2 separate regions of the Homo sapiens genome follow, and region 2 is linked to region 1. Evidence: promoter capture Hi-C in 16 types of primary human blood cells and fetal thymus (Javierre and others, 2016). All regions are on one chromosome and are shown on one strand. The core of a region is centred on a gene start or on the middle of the fragment in contact, and the rest is flanking DNA. Distances in the headings are between cores, read along the strand shown. Region 1 holds the start of CUX1 (cut like homeobox 1). Region 2 overlaps LOC100630923 (LOC100289561-PRKRIP1 readthrough).

What was found. The method cuts DNA at HindIII sites, captures the fragments that hold promoters and counts their contacts. A CHiCAGO score of 5 or more calls a contact.
Region 2: a fragment that was not itself captured here is called in contact with the fragment with the promoter of CUX1 in region 1 in 1 of 17 cell types (neutrophils); the score reaches 8.3 in neutrophils.

The regions. Positions count from the first base shown.
Region 1 is chr7:101,816,001-101,819,895 of GRCh38, reverse strand. It overlaps CUX1 (cut like homeobox 1), which reads right to left and starts at 2,270. Exons shown (of 24, transcript NM_181552.4): 1 at 2,227-2,270. The coding sequence starts at 2,256. RefSeq lists silencers at 2,321-2,370, 2,421-2,490, 2,521-2,600, 2,671-2,990, 3,101-3,260 and 1 more and an enhancer at 3,086-3,895. The HindIII fragment of the contact is 10,531 bases long and covers 1-3,895 here.
Region 2 is chr7:102,387,795-102,391,689 of GRCh38, reverse strand. All of the region lies in intron 4 of LOC100630923 (LOC100289561-PRKRIP1 readthrough), which reads right to left. Among named protein-coding and RNA genes, the nearest start is that of PRKRIP1, 6.6 kb to the left of the region's middle. The HindIII fragment of the contact is 9,075 bases long and covers 1-3,895 here.

The sequences.
Region 1 (3,895 bases), core at 1,021-3,520:
CTTTCTTAGGTTGGCTAACTACCGACAGAAGATACACGAAGCCGAGGATGTAGTCAAAGGGCTCTCTGTGGACTCAACTGTACCAGGAGTTGTTGCATTAACTCACCACTTGCACCTTTAAGGAAAAAAAGAGTTTCACATAGGAAAAAACTTAAATCAACTGCCAATGACCCCTTCCCACATCCAACCTCAAAGACACCCATATTAAAAGAACCAAGAAAACAAAAGCAGGAGCAGCAGTGGTGTAATTTCTTGAACTGCTCTTTTATAAAGGGTACTAGATGGGACATTTTAATTAAAATAATATACTTATTATGGCAAACAGTACTGGACAGCCAGTAACATACACACTTCCACAACAGGGGGAAAAAAAGCCATCAGAAAATGGACTTTCAGCAAAACTGAAATTGTTTTTTGATTCTGAAAAAGAAGGCAACTTTTCAAGTTTACTTTTGCAGAAGCTGCTTAAAGGGGAAGGCTGGTCACCATGTGGGAATAATGTCCCAAAGGGAAGGCAGTCATTGGCGGGCCCCGTCCCAAAGAGTTCAAAGCTCCACTAACATACAGAGTGCCATGAGCTTTGTCTTAGAAAGTGTCCTCCTTTCAAATATGTATTTAAAAGACAAATTTATACAACAGTGCTTTTCTTATTTAAAAAGAAAAGAAAACCTGGTTTTTACAAGTCTGAGATAGGATAAAAAACTTGTCCAACTAGTCTTAGCAATACCAAAGCACTGAAACTTCCATACCACAAGCCTTTGGGACTAAAAAGGAAACGGAATAAAACACAATCTTCAGAAATTCTCTTCCTGAGCACACACTCCTGTGCCAAGGCAGCAGCTTCAAGACCCAGGAAGCCGAGGGACAAGAACCCAGTGAGCCAGGGTTGCAGAACTGCGGAACGGCCCAACCTCACCTGGACCCGCTGACGTCTCCAACCTGGATTTCTCTCTGCAAAGACCGATCAGCCTCTTTACCCCCAGGTGGCAACCCAATCTCAGTATAAAGAGGTCTGGAAAAATGAGAAAAATCTGGAACTAATGAATTCTCTCCCAAACTCGTTCTATTGACTCACTGACTATCGGTGGGAATTAACCAGACACCAACTCCAAAGGCCTCCTCACCGCCCAGAGAAAGAACCAGATTGGCCTGAGACTTGAACTTTGACATTCCGTATTCGACTAAAGTTTGCAAACCCATAGGAAATCATCTAAGGCCAAATCGTTAGCAACCACCAAAAGCAAAGGAGTAAAGAGGAATGAAGTTCAAATAAGGGACTTTGTTTTGGGGTTTGGTTTTGATTTCTTCTTAATATCCACATAAAGTGCAAGTAAACTGACATGGAAACTTTCGATGGAACCCTGGAGCCCTGATCCCCTGAAGAAGTAGCTAATATGGGGGACAGGAAGGTTTAGAGTTCTTAAAATCTAGTAACTCTAGAAACCAAATCCATTTTCCAGGCAATTTTGCCAGGATGCTTTAAAAAAGACACTTCATTGATATTAAGCTAGGATGTCACATTTAGGAAGACAAGAGAGAAAAATAATAATAATGTTTGTCCTTAAAACTCCACAACGGGTTTTACAGTAAGCACAGGAATTAAATTATGGTAAAAGGGAGCTATTTTTACTAAAACAGGGTAGACCAATTTATCAAAAATGCCATTCGGCTGTGTTCATTACATCCAGGAATCTAATTTACACAATAGACACTTTGGAGTAATCTATTTTAGTCAATAAATACTTAAACTCCTTTAAGTTTTAATCTTATCGGAAATACATATTTCGCATAGTCTTCTTCCTAGTTAAGCGAGAAATTTCAGGAAATTTCATAACGACTATGACTCGGCTTTATCGTTCTTAGTAGGCAAGAGCAGAAAACAAGCATATACAATTAAAGTTGTCAGATTCCATTTAAATATGTTTTAATCCAACCCGCTTCGTTTGATACAAGCCTGCATCTCGAGCTTTGCTCCCAAAGGTATTGCGGTAGGTCACTGTCACCAGTCCTCCAGGTTAGGAAAGTTCAGCCAAGTTTATCTTCACGCACACCTTAGCAGTTGGGAGTAGCTGCAGTTCCCCAGGGGCCCTGAGGAACCCTCCTATCCCCTCCCAGAGCACCAGGCCGCCCTAGAGCATTCTAAGCCGCGGGACCCGGGCACCCCCCGACATCCCCGGTTCCCTCCGCGCCTGCAACCTCGGGACTTCTGGCCCACACGCCGCTCACCTTCAACCTGGCTCCGGCTACGCACAACATCCACCTGGCAGAGTCCCGGGGCTGTCCCGGCGCCGCGGGCGCCGAGCTGGCACGTGCGGGGCGGACCCTAAGGGTGCGCCGCTCCTCCGGGCGGGGGGTGGCAGGCAGGCACTCGCCCCTTGGGCACGGCGGCGACTCGGGCGCGGGCCGGGGAGCCCCGGCACGGTCCCCCCGCGGCGCCGGGGACTCCGCGCGCGGACCACCGCCCGGCATGCCACGGTCCCAACGGGCCCCCGGGGCTCTGCTTTCGAGAACCCGGCCCGAGAAGGCATCTCCGAGCGCACCCGCCGCGCGCTCCATGGCGGGCCCTGCAGAGAGGGCAGAAGCCCCGAGGGGACGCAAGGAAGGGACCCGGCGCCGCAGGTCACCGGGGGCCGCCGGAGCCCCCAGGCGCGCGGCGATCGCGGCTCGGACCGGCGGCGGGGAGGCAGCGTACACTGCCCGGGCACCCGGGGGAACAGCTTGGGGCCTGCCTAGGGGAAAGTTGCAGCCTCCTCCTCCCGCGCCCGCACCCGGCGGTCCGGGACACCGGGACCCAGCGACACTGCGCGCGGGGCACCCCCGCCGCCCCTCGCCAAGTTTCCCCAAAGAGCCCCCGCGGGGGTCCGCCACGGAGGAACAGGTCCGCGTCACCGACACAGGCACACAAAAGAGCGCGGCGGCCGCGAGGTGCGCGGGTGGCCCCGGGGCGCTCCCCGGGACGTAAACAAACCCGGGGGTCCGCGCCGGGAGCCACACGCGGGGTGCCGGAGCGGCGGCGCGGCCCGGGCCGGTGACAGCCGGGGGCGGCGGCCGGGGCCGGCCGGGGGTAGCGAGCGCGGGCGCCTGCCCGGCCACCCGCCCGCCTGGCCGGAGCCGGGCCGCGCCGCCGCCGCCGCCGCCGGTGGCCGCTCTGACCCTCCCCCGAGCCGGCGGCACCACAGCGCCACCAGCCCCAGCTCCGCCGCGCCGGCGGCAGTGGCGGCGGCTCCTCCTGGAGAGGCAGGCGCTTCACCCCCCGCAGCAACTCCCCACAAACTTTCCCCGGGAATACGGCGGGCCGGGGGCGCGGGGCGAGCGGGCGGGCGGGCGCCACCGCCGGGCCGCGGCCCCCTCCCGGCGCCCGCCGCCGCCCGCCCCCCGCCGCCCGCTCCCCGCTCCCCGCTCGCGCGCGCACCCCGCGGGCCGCCGGGGCCGCCCCCTCCCCGGTCCCGCGGCGGCAACGGCGGCGGCGGCGCTGGCGGCGGCGGCGGCGCGGGGCCCGGGGGGGCGCCCGGGGTGGGGGCAGACACCGGGGGCAGTGGTGGCGGCGGCGGCTCCCGGCGCCATCTTGGGCTGATCGATGAATTGAACAAAGAGGATCAATTTCCGATCAAGCGAGTGATCAATGGGGGCCGGGGAGCGGGAGGGACTCGGCCCCGACTCGGCCCCGCGGTGCCCGGCACCCCCCTCCTCCCCGCCGCCGCGGGCCCCCCGGCGGCTGGGCCAGCCCGGGGCCCCCGGCGGAGGCCGCGACCGCCCGCAGCCCCCACCCCCGGGCGCGAGGCCGAGCGCGGAGGAGCCTGACCTGCAGCTGCTGTAAATCAAAGCGCTTCCAATATTGAAACATCGATCCCACATTGGCCGCCATCTTGAGACATATTGAGACGGAGTGAGCGGC
Region 2 (3,895 bases), core at 1,396-3,895, 570 kb before region 1:
CCTCAAGCAATTCTTCAGCCTTGGACTCCTGAGTAGCTATGACAACAGGCTGGTGCCACCACACTCAGCTAACTTTTTATTTTTATTTTTTGAGAGGGAGTTTCTCTCTTGTCACCCAGGCTGGAGTGCAATGGCGCGATCTCGGCTCACTGCAACCTCTGCCTCCCAGGTTCCAGCGATTCTCCTGCCTCAGCCTCCTGAGTAGCTGGGATTACAGGCACCCGCCACCATGCCCGGCTAATTTTTGTATTTTTAGTAGAGACAGGGTTTCGTCATGTTGGCCAGGCTGGCCCCGAACTCCTGATCTCAGGTGATCCACCCGCCTCAGCTTCCCAAAGTGCTGGGATTACAGGCGTGAGCCACCTTGCCCAGCCTAATATTTTATTTATTTATTTATTTATTTATTTATTTATTTATTTATTTGGTAGAGCTGGAGTCTTGCTATGTTGCCCAGGCTATCATCCTGATTCTACTGAAATGGAACTGAGGCCCAGAGGAGAAAGCAATTGGCTCAGGGCCACACAGACTCAAACCCAGCAGTCTAGCCCTGGGTCTGTGACAGCCTGAGTGATTATGTGACTCACACAGATGGGACAGGGCCCCAGCAGACCCTGGCGGGAACCCTGGTGGCACCCTCCTAGGTGGCACCTTCCTGGTGGCACCTTCCTGGGGCTGAGGTCAGATTTGAGGTCCGGCTCCCTGGGATGAAAGGCCGCCTCACAGATGCCCACAAGTCTCACACCCAGGGTGATGTCCCTTCTGCCACCAGAGGGCAGCAAATCCCCACCCAGGTCCCGCCACTAGGAGCCTTAATCCACCTTTCCTGAGATCCAGAACTGGGCACCCAGGGAGCAAGGTCTACTGGCTGGAAGATACCAGTGCGTTGCAGACTGGCAGACTGGGTGCCACCTACCCTGGGCTTGCACAAGCAACCTAACCTCTCTAAGGCTGTTTCCTTATGTGCAAAATTGGTACAAGCGAATCTACCTTGTCGCTGGCACATGGGTAAAATGACGTTTGGACATGCAGTGTCCAGCAGAGCCTGACATTCAATAACATGGCTCACGCCTGTAATACCAGCACTTTGGGAGGCTGAGGCAGGTGGATGATCTGAGGTCAGGAGTTCGAGACCAGCCTGGCCAACATGGTGAAACTCCGTCTCTACTAAAAATACAAAAAAAATTAGCCGGGCGTGTGGGGTGGGGGGAGCTGCCTGTAATCCCACCTACTCGGGAGGCTGAGGCAGGAGAATTGCTTGAGCCCAGGAGGCGGAGGCTGTACTGAGCCAAAATCGCACCTCTGCACTCCAGCCTGGGAGACAGAGAGAGACTCTGTCTGAAAAAAAAAAAAAAAAATAGGTGACCACACTTGTCCTAGTTTGATCCTAGGACTGAAGGGTTTCCCAGAAAGTGGGACCTTCAGTGCTAAAACCAGGAGAATCTTGGGCAAGCCAGGATGGTTGATTACCCTAGACGAGTGGGTACTCCTATCTCAATTCTTTGAGTAGTGGTTGATACTTTAAGTACTAAAACAGCAGGGTTTTTTTTCTTTTTTCTTTTTTTCTTTTCTTTTCTTTTTTTTTTTGAGACAGAGTTTCACTCTCGTTACCCAGGCTGGTCTCAAACTAGAGAAATGAAAATATATGTCCACTGACTGACCTGTATGCAAATACAAACAGTAGCTTGATTCATAATTGCCAAAAACTGGAAACAACCCATATGTCCATCAAATTGAGATCTAGACCTACAGGGAAATACTACTTAGCAATAAAAGGAAGGAGCTTTTGCTGAGTGCGGTGGCTCATGACTGTAATCCCAGCACTTTAGGAGGCTGAAGAGGGAGGATCACTTGAGGCCGGGAGTTCAAGACCAGCCTGGCCAACAAGATGAAAGCCTATCTCTACTAAAAATACAAAAATTAGCTGGGCATGGTGGTGTGCACCTGTAATCTCAGGTACTTGGAAGGCTGAGGCAGGAGGATTGCTTGAACCCAGGAGGCGGAGGTTGCAGTGAGTCGGATTAAGAAGGTGGATTAAGATATCATACCACTGCACTCAGCCTGGGCGACAGTGAGACCCCATCTCAAAAAAAAAGGGGACCAGGTGTGGTGGCTCATGCCTGTAATCCCAGCACTTTTGGAGGCCGAGGCGGGCAGATCACGAGGTCAGGAGATCAAGACCATCCTGGCTAACAGGGTGAAACCCAGTCTCTACTAAAAATACAAAAAAATTAGCCAGGTGTGGTGGTGTGCACCAATAGTCCCAGCTATTCAGGAGGCTGAGGCAGGAGAATGGCGTGAACCCGGGAGGCGGAGCTTGCAGTGAGCCGAGCTCGTGCCACTGCACTCCAGCCTGGGCGACAGAGTGAGACTCCATCTCAAAAAAAAAAAAAAGAAAAAGAAAAAAGAAAAAGGAAGGAAGGACCTCTTGAGGCTTGCAATAACGTGGATGGATCTCAGATGCATTATGTTTAGTGAGTGAAGTCAGATCTATTAATAGAAGGCCACAACCTGAATGGTTCCATTTACTTGATGTTCTGGAAAAGCCAAAATGATAGGGATGGAAAACAGATCAGCAGTTGCCATGGGCCAAGTAGGAGGACGGGACTGACCTGGGAGGGCCTCAGGGAACTTTCTTGGGTAATAGATATTTTTTCCCCTCCCTCCCTCCCTCCCTCCCTTCCTCCCTTCCTACCTTCTTTCCTTCTTTTGAGATGGTGTCTCACTCTGTTGCCTAGACTGGAGCGCAGTGGCGTGACCATAGCCCATTGCAGCCTCAAACTCCTGGGCTTCAGTGATCCTCCTGCCACAGCCTCCTGAATAGCTGGGACTATTGGTGCACACCACCACACCTGGCTATTTTTACTTTATTATTATTATTATTTTTGTAGAGATGATGTCTTGCTGTATTGCCCAGGCTGGTCTCAAACTCCTGGCTTCCAGTGATCCTTCTATCCCCAGAATCCCAAAGCACTGGGATTATAGGCATGATCCACTGCACCTGGCCTCTCTGCATAATATTTGGATGACAAAAATGTTCTATATCTGAATTGTGGTGGCAGCTACACAACCATCCACATTTATCAAACTTATTTAACCATATACTTCTATTTATTTATTCATAGACAGAGTTTCACTCTGTCGCCCACACTGGAGTGCAGTGTCTCGATCTCTGCTCACTGTAACTTCTGCCTCTCAGCCTCAAGCAATCCTCCCATCTCAGCTTCCCGAGTAGCTGGGACTACAGGCACGCACCACCATGTGCAGCTAATTTTTGTATTTTTTGGTTTTGTTTTTTTGTAGAGATGGGGGTCTCACTATGTTGCCCAAGCTGGTCTCAAACCAGAGTCCTGGGATTACAGGTGTGAGCCACTGTGCCTGGACTTGAACCATATACTTTAAAAGGGTGGATTTAATCATATGAACATTGTACCTCAATAAACTTGACCTAATTTACAGTGTGGATTTGCCAGGTTGCAGGGGAGCTAACCCTCCATTGTCTGAGTTGCTTTCGTGAGGAGTTCAGCCTTTAGCTCCTTGTGCCCTCTGAGGCAGCTCGGGCCTGTAAATCTGCCCTGCTCACCATAAGGCCAAGGCTTGGGGTGACAGGTTTTTGAAAACCCAGAGGCCAATGTGGTTGAAGCCCCCACACTTCTTTTTATTTATTGGTTTACTTATTATTATTATTTTTGAGACAGAGTCTCGCTGTGTCATCCAGGCTGGAGGGCAGTGGGGCAATCATAACTCACTGCAGCCTCAACCTCCTGGGCTCAAGTGAACCTCCCAACTCAGCCTCCTGAGTAGCTGGGACTACAGGAGCACATCACCACGCCTGGCTAATTTTTATTTTATTTTATTTTATTTATTTTTTTGAGACGGAGTCTCGCTGTCGCCCAGG